2 separate regions of the Homo sapiens genome follow, and region 2 is linked to region 1. Evidence: promoter capture Hi-C in human tissues and cell types (Jung and others, 2019). All regions are on one chromosome and are shown on one strand. The core of a region is centred on a gene start or on the middle of the fragment in contact, and the rest is flanking DNA. Distances in the headings are between cores, read along the strand shown. Region 1 has its middle 7.5 kb from the start of TM4SF4. Region 2 holds the start of HLTF (helicase like transcription factor).

Region 1 (4,373 bases), core at 694-3,193:
CTGGCCTGCAGCACGCGGCGCCAGCAGCTCCTCACTTTCGAAGTCGCGGGCTCTGAGACTGCCCGAGTGAGAAGGAGGCTGTGGGTCAGGGCCCCGCCCTGCGGCATCCCAGGAAGAGGACAGCGTGGGGCCGGAGTCAGGCCCGGTCCTGGGTCCGTGTCTCCATTCCGCCGCCTACTGCCAGGCCAGCCCAGCCCCGGAACTTCTCTTCCAGTGCTTGAGGGTCCGCCCGTGCAGTGTGGAAGTGGGCAGGCAGGGTGACTTCCAGCTCACTCCCCTGTCTTGTATTTTCCATAGTCTGGTTTAACAGTTGTATGTCGGTGGCAGTCATTATCGTCATCATCACTATTATCAGCGCGTATTTTATGGTGCCTTGATTAAGTGGAGGCACCGTGCTAGGTACAGTTAAGGACTTTACCTTTCTATAAGATACTGTCACCGTTTTTAAGGAGTGTCCCATCTCCATTTCTGGCCCAGAGGTAAGATTAGAGGTTCTGACATGGTGATAAGTTTGAAAAACAGATACAGCCCTGAAAGTCCCGGGAAGAAGGGAGGAGGAGAGGGAACAAGCTTCAGAGTGCTGGCTTCCAAAGTCCTTCCGCAGATAGCCAGTGTGCTTCCAGCTGCTCAGTGGGAAGAGACTCAGAAATAGTGGAACGCTGCAAGGAGGTCAAAGGAGAATGAAGCCTGAGACATGGCCACGGGGTTCAGTAACGGGTAATGGCACTGATGAACTTGCCATAGTGAGACTGGGACAGGAACCAGATGGCAAGAGGTTAACAAATCAGAGGGGGCTGGGAACTGGAGAGACAGGCTTGGTCAAGAGGAGAAAGGAGCAGGGTCAAGGGAAGATGTTTCCAAGACAGAATTCAAAAATGGAAAAATTTGATTATTTCTGGTTGTTTGATGGGTAAATGGGAGTTCATTATACAATTCTCTATACCTAGTGGGTATTTTTTAACTTCTTTAATAAAAATTTAGGAAAGGCAAAGTGAGAACTGAGACTGTGTGAAGAGAATGAAGAGATAGGTAAGAGAGGATACTAAATCTTTAAGACAGAATAATGATAATTGGTGGTACAGTCTCAGGGAAGGTTTAGAGATGGGAACAAAAGCACCAGTGAGGGAATTAATCTGCTGACAGGGGAAAGATAATAAAAATGGATGAAGATAAGAATAAAATGTGGATGAAAGAGGAAAGTGTTCATATAAAAATATTATAAGGCTGAAAGGAAGATGGATGAAGGAACTTGGGCCTTCATTTCTGCAAGTGGGAGGAGAGGTTATAACTCTCAAAGGAGTTGGGGCGAGGGAGGAGGGAGGGTTTGAGGAATGTGGAAAAGGGTTGGAATAACAGTTGCGGAATGCAGTAGGGAGTGAGTAAGAGGGGAAGATGACTGTTGAGAAGCAGGCCCATCTAAAGAAAGGCAGCCCAAGCTTTTAACCGATTCATACTTTGACAACCACCACCATAAAGCATGCAGAAAACAGCAAGCTAGAGTGATGTGGGGTCTCTTCCGACCCTAGAGCCTTCTGAAATCCCTAAGCTGGCAAGTGACTGTCCCAAGAACAAAAGTTTGTTAGAGCAAGTAGCAACTACTTGAAACACCCCACAATGAGCTGCTCCAGTGGGAAGTCTAAGGAAGGGCATCCATTTGCCCCAAAGTAAGCAGAGTAATAAATGTGTCCAGCCTCAATGTATGGCCCTCCGACTGCCAGAATCACCTGAAGCTTGTTAGAAATTCAAAATCTAAGGCCCTGTCCCAGACTTTCTAAATCAGAATCTGTATTTTAACAAGATTGCAGATGATTTACATGCACATTAAAATTTGAGAAGCCTTGGTCTGTAACTTTGCTAGAAGCTTTGATATACATATGGGTAATCACAGAAAAGCTAATGTCAATTTAAAAATAAATTGGGCCTCTACATTGTGCCTCACACTGTGAAGACCACCAAAGACCTGGATGCATTTCTCTACCCTTTAGGTTTAATCACAGTAGTTATTGCAAGTAGGAATTATTTTTGCAATTGCAGTTCAGTCTTGAAAACCTATAAAAGGGAAAAGGTTTATCTAACTTTGACATTCTGTGAATTGGAACTGATTATTCAATTTTAAGCAAGGGAGTTTATCATTTGACCTTGCTTCTGGACTCTCCACCACTGTCAGTGGCAGGGTAGCTCAGGTGCACTTAGAGCAGTCACACATCCTACCAATTACTACACTGAGTTACTTCCTTTTAAAACTTAGTTTTAATGTTTTTACCGCCTTAGAATTTGGTCTTATCCATAATTTTTGCTCTCTTTGCTCAGTCCTTTGGCAACTAGAAATCCATAGTTAGAGTCAGTGAGAGCATCTTTGAGCAGTGGGACAACATGTCCCTTCCAACTCGTTGGCATTGCTCTTTTCTTTCATAAGACACGCACTCAGTCTAAAGAGTGTGGGCTTGGGTTCAAGTGCTGACTTGCTTTCTAGCTGTGTGGTTTTGAGCAAACTCTTTACCCCCTGAGCCTCAACTTCCTTCCATATAGCAAAGAGGGAGGTTACTGGGTTACTATCACCCATCTCAGAGGGACATTGTGAGTTAATATTGAAAAGCATTAAAGTTATACCTAGCATGTAACAAGCTTACAGTAAATATTACTACATAATGTAATTTTATCAAAATTCTATTCTTGGCAATGAATAGTTTCAAAGGAGCCTATTCAGGGGAGCCTTCCCTATCCTGACTGGAATCCCCCTGTTACCCTATATGCTTTCATAGCTCTCTCTAGTCCATGGAACAAATTATAGTTTGTTATTATATGTTTTTGAGACGGTTTGATTAATGAAAGGCAACATGCGTAGAGGTTAAGAGCACAGACTTTTTTTTTTTAAACTAGATTGCTTGAGATCAAATCCTGTCTCCTGCTACTAGTGATGAGATCTTGGGAAAGTTACTTAATCTCTCTGGGATACAGTTTCCTTATGAGTAAAATTCAGATTAAAATAGAACCAACTTCATACAATTGCTCTGTTTTCTGTTATTAGCATTATTAATATCTATCTTCCTTTTCTTATAAGCTCTGTCCATTTAACACGTCTCCAGTACCTGACACATCAGTGCTCAAAAAATGTGCTAAAAGAATAAATATACAAAAGCTAAAATTGACCCCCATGAAAGTTCACTGACATGAAATTTTAAGACAGTTGTTTTTGATGTTTTTTTTTTTTTCCAAATTGTGCTTGCTGTCTTGGTGTTGTTATCATTTCCCAATATGTTTGTAAATTTTTATAAGCAAAAATTATTTGGAAAAATAATTTTTAAAAACTAATGGGGAAACACTTGTACAAAGGCACAGACAAAAAGAATAATACATAATTATATAAAGTCAGATTTATAGAAATTAAAAACACATGCAGTGTTAAAATTTCTCTGCATTTTAAAGCCATAACATGAATTTTTAAACTTGGTTTCTTTTTGAACCCATGTTTAATTTTAAAAAGAAGATGAGGAACCGCAGTTAGTGATGTTTTACCTTACGGAGAGTGGGTGAGGGGTGAGTTCCTGTTGAAAGTTAACTTCTCACCTATAACCATGATGATATCAAAGAATGCTAAAACAAATCAATATTTGGGCAGGTCATCTGGGACAGATTTACCAGCCAGAGCTCATGCCTCTCTGAGAGGTCACAGCTGTGCCCTTTTGTACTGAGACCTGCATTAGAGAGGACTATATAGCACCCCTTTGAGTCATGAGGCAGGAAGAGATTTGCATTTCTCATTCTAATTTTGAAAACAACTGGAGATACTTTTAAGGTGTAGATGGTGCCTGCTAGCTCCTCAAGTGCAAATCCTAACTCAGGCTGTGTCTACCCATACACAATTGTGGGAATTATCCAGATAATTTACCCTGTAGCAGAGAAAGGCCCTTGATTTAAACCTAAATGCATGCAGGCTGTCCTCTCTGTGTTGAGCAAACAATAGGTACCAGTCTTTGGTTTCTGAAGCAGGATATTGTGGTGATTAAGAGGATGGTCTCTATAATCAGACTCCTTTGGTTTAAATCTACCTTTATCTCTGTGGTGAATTAAAGCTGGCCAGAAATTCTCTGACATTTCTTTCATAAAGAGGTGAGGTCTATGTTCCCTCCCCTTGAATTTGAGATCATTCTGACTACACTGACCAATAAAATTGGCCAAAGTGACCCTGTCCCATTTTCTGGCCCAGGCCTTAAGACAATGGCAGCTTCTACTTATATCTCAGAGCCTTATGTTACCATGTAAAAGTCTAACTACAGTGTTGCAGAAACCACATGGAGAGCCCTGAGACTAAAGGAAGAAAAAGAGGGGCCCAGCTTTATATGAGCCCAGTGTTATAGCTGTTCCCATCAAGC
Region 2 (4,373 bases), core at 1,258-3,757, 380 kb before region 1:
TTATTACAAAGATATATTACAAAGATTTTAAATTCAGCCCAACTGTCATTAAGTCCTTCATAACTTTCATTTTATGAAACTGTCATTCATAAAATGCCACAAGTATGAAAATATAAAAACTTAGGAAATATTGTCTCTTCCTAAGGAATCTCCTAGACAACACATTTCAGACAATCAAAAAACAATTTGAAACGTTCCAATGTAAAGGAAATACAGGAGAAAAACAAATCCAGAACATGAAACTCCTAAGGAATCTCCTGTCGAACATGCTTCAGACACCCTATTGAGAAGCTTAAACATAAGAAACATACGGAGAAATGAAAGAATAAAATCCAGAAGATTCCACAAAACGATCTCCTTTTTGCAACAAATCGATGACATGAACAAGGCGCTGGGGTGTGGGGGTGGGGTGCTACCCATAATAACCAAACATAACGCACTGAGGCCAAGCATATTGGCTCATTCCTGTAATCCCAACACTCTGGGAGGCTGAGGTGGGAGGGTCACTTAAGGTATTTGTTATTTTTTGCGTACAAATATTTAACTAACTTAAAGTAAAATAAAGATTAACCGCACACATCACCTGCGAATTCTCTTATTTTCTAGGTTAACGCCAGAAATATAATCAAAATTTAATTATCTACTATTATACTCACTACTCCCGTGTAATAGCGTAGTCCAACCACATGACCTCTCAAACTTCCAAATAAAACGGAATCTACTTCTTCATCACTAGTTAGAAAGTCATCTGGAGGGATAACATCTTGGAATTCAAAACGTGGAAAGAAAGTTGGATATGAGAGGCGTGGAAAATTTCCATGAACTCCATACTGGACAGTCTGCAAGTACTTCCAAACTGGATCCCTATTTTTTTTTAAAGGCAAAGAAAAACAATATAATATTTAAGTATTTCCAAAGACCATATGAGTAGTTTTCTCATGCTTTACTTCAGCAAATGAAATCTTACATGGGAATCACGGTAAAGATTAATAGTTACTCTCGTTAAAGCAGGAATTGCAGTGAGTGGAGAAGGCTTCTAGGAACTCTACCTGTTTTCAATATTGGCTCTTCTACCTGCCCCCTAGGTATTCAAAATGAAAAGCCTAGTCAGAGTTCACTAACCTCTTTCCCAGTGAAAATCATCTAAATTGATATGTATATGATGTCTGTAACTACAATTATGGGCCGGATGCGGTGGCTCACGCCTGGAATCCCAGCACTTTGGGAGGCAGAGGCAGGTGGATCACCTGAGGTCAGGAATTTGAGACCAACCTGGCCAACATTGTGAAACCCTGTCTACTACAAATACAAAAATTAGCCAGGCGTGGTGGCGCCCATATGTAATCCCAGCTACTCGGGAGGCTGAGGCAGGAGAATCACTTGAACCCGGGAGGCGTAGGTTGCAGCGAGCCGAGATTGTGCCACTGCACTCCAGCCTGGACGACAGAGCGAGACTCCATGTCAAAAAAATAATTTAAAAAATGAAATCATATGCCAAAATTTCAATAGGGATTGAGCTATATAAAAGACTTATAAAAATACAACTATTAATGTACCAGAAGTTGTTTATAATTTTCCAGAAAATACATCCAGCATCCATCACTGTAACTCCCTGCGAGCAGAACACCTATTCTGGTATCCAAACCACGCCACCGTGGGAAATTGGCCCCAAGCCACCCGTACCCGCCTTCCGTCGCCGGTTTAAGCATAACCCCAAACCCATTAGGTGTAACTGTTTCGGGAATGACCATAAATACCAATTTGGACAATGAAAAGTGAAGGGGAGTCTACTGGAGCATTGCAAAAAGTTTCCATTCTCCTAAGAACAGTCGCTTATTTGCGATGCGTTTTCCTTGCAAGTGGCGCATATCTCTACTAGCGCCTCTGCAAATACTTATCTGCACGTCTGTGCATACAGATAAGCTGTGAGCCACTTGGGGACAAGGACTGTCTTACTCGGCCCTCCACCGAGCACAATGCCTGGCGCACAGTGGGTATCTAATGGATGTTTTGTTAAATAAAGCACTGGCCGAGATGCTTTAAGCCCCAGGCCCCCCACAGTCGGTGACAGAGATTTCCCAAGTCCCTAACACGGGACTCGCCCTAGGAGCCCCTACTCGCCAGCGAAGACAATGCATTTATTTCTCCGGCGGCCACATATGCGACCAACAGAACGAATACAGCTGCACAAATCGCCCAGGGAACGCAGAGGAACGCGGGGAAGGTCAGGTTCATTTGGGGACGCCTCCAGGCCGTTAGACCGAGCGCCCCACCCCCTCCGCCCCCTTCACCTCTTGAACATCCAGGACATGGCGCTGAGTGGGATGACAAGAGGAGCGCCTCGGCTCCCCTGGATCGTTTTCGAGCCGCCTCGATACGCCTCCTTCCAGGCCCCGCAGCCCTGAAGCCGGGGACAAATTCCGAGCGCCGGATCAGGAGCGCACGACTGAAAGGTAAGTCGCCGCGAGTCCAGTCAGACGTCGACGCCGTCTCCTTCTGCAACAATCTGGGAGACCAGCGTCGCTCTGTGACTGGCACTAGGAAAGCCCAATCACGAAGAGGAGAGTGCGGAGCCAAACCAGTCAGAGCACAGAAGGGAGGGCAACTCCGCCCCGCTGCCATTCAAAGACGGCGGGGGGTCCGGGCTGCAAGGGTGGTTCCATCCGGGTTCTTCCCCGCCCCCAAGGCGGGCGCGCGGGAAAGCCACGAGGCCCCAGGAGTGCGACTGCGGTGCCTGCGGTGCCGGTGTTTTGTTTGATTCCCTGCCTCAAACGGAGGGAAACGACCTTCCTTTATCCTACGAGTCCTAAGACTGAACCCCATTCTAAAGGCTCTACCGTATCCTTCCTCTTATTTTCTTCTCATCTAATGTGGCACATAATAGGGCCTTATACTAAAGGAGCTCCACGGTTTACGAGACCTAGAGCTACCGGCGAGATACTTTACTTCATTCCCTGTGGTGAACCGTGGGGACTTTCGCTCCAAATTTTCATGTTAAGCCTCAGCGTATGCATGAGACACAACGAGTTTGGAAAATCTTAAATGGAACTTAGAGTCCCCTCCCCACCTCTTTTTGTTATTTTTAAGGAAAATTTTCCTTTCTTGGTGCAGGAAACCCATCACATGTTTATTACAGCTATGGGGGCGTTTGCCTGAAATGGTGGACGGGACCATTTTCCCCGTGGGCACTTGGCTGCTCCAGCCAAGAGGGGGAGGCCCTTGTTTTCCTCAAGGAACTGCAGAGGGGCGCTCTGAGGCCCTCCATGGCTCTCTTTCCAGAGTCTGAGGTGACCGGAAGGAGAATGCGGCCCTGGGACCGTCAACCTTGGACCAGCTGCAGCCGACGCCTGGCAGGGCTGGTCGCTTTGCGTTGAGGAGGCTGCTGTCCCCGAAGCTGGCCTTTTAATCGCACAGGGCAGGAAGCTGGTGGTGGCGCCCAGCTGCACAGGCGGCACCATGTAACTGCCAGATAATACTTGCGCGTCACAGAGAGGTCCATGTTACACGCCTGTCAGCACAATAATATTAGGTGGTCAGCTTTTCTTTTTTCTTTTTTTTGTTTTTTTTTCTTTTTTATTGAGATGGAGTCTTGCTCTGTCCCCCAGGCTGGAGTGCAATGGGGGTGATCTTGGCTCACTGCAACCTCCGCCTCCCGGATTCAAGCGATTCTCCTGCCTCAGCCTCCGGAGTAGCCGGGATTGCAGGAGCCCGCCACCACGCCCAGCTAATTTTTGTATTTTTAGTAGAGACGGGGTTTCACCATATTGGCCAGGCTGGTCTTGAACTCCTGACCTCAGGTGATCCGCCCGCCTCGGCCTCCCAGAGTGCTGGGATTACAGGCATGAGCCACCGTGCCAGGCCGGTAGTCAGCTTTTCAAGACACATTTGTTCATTATCGTAAATAAACTGTAGTGATCTCTAATCATGAACCATGGATGAGCAATAGAATTTGAAACAATGTATTATTTCATTTGACCAAAGTTGATGAGGAAGATAAAGACAATGGCATTTCAAATTATTTTAATTGTTGTATGTTCTTCTTGAAGTGTGTTGAGGCAAATGGCAATACAGTTCAGCTTTTAGTATGCCAGATTTTAAATAAATTCTTGGAAAATATGCCAGAAATTGCTCAAATTGATGTTTTGTAAGAGTAAGAAAGTCATGCTCACTAGACAAAGAAAAAATTCCAAATATGAGAACATAGCTCTTTCAGACTTAAGACTGGCCAGGCGCAATGGCTCACACCTATAATCCCAGCACTTTGGGAGGCCGAGTTGGGTGGATCACCTGAGGTCAGGAGTTCGAGACCAGCCTGGCCAACATGGTGAAAGCCTGACTCTACTAAGAAAATACAAAAATTAAGCAGACGTGGT

Evidence for each region. Contacts are between HindIII fragments. The study calls those that stand out against the background at their distance.
Region 2: a contact is called between the fragment with the promoter of HLTF here and a fragment that was not itself captured in region 1, in 2 of the 25 tissues and cell types used here (H1 embryonic stem cells and mesendoderm cells).

Annotation. Positions count from the first base shown.
Region 1 is chr3:149,465,032-149,469,404 of GRCh38, forward strand. No RefSeq gene overlaps it. Among named protein-coding and RNA genes, the nearest start is that of TM4SF4, 7.5 kb to the right of the region's middle. The HindIII fragment of the contact is 4,376 bases long and covers 1-4,131 here.
Region 2 is chr3:149,084,026-149,088,398 of GRCh38, forward strand. HLTF (helicase like transcription factor) reads right to left here and starts at 2,508. Exons shown (of 25, transcript NM_003071.4): 1 at 2,292-2,508; 2 at 657-864. The coding sequence starts at 2,311. HLTF-AS1 (HLTF antisense RNA 1) reads left to right here and starts at 2,307. Exons shown (of 3, transcript NR_046648.1): 1 at 2,307-2,453. RefSeq lists enhancers at 1,835-2,352, 2,258-2,467, 2,353-2,870. The HindIII fragment of the contact is 14,534 bases long and covers 1-4,373 here.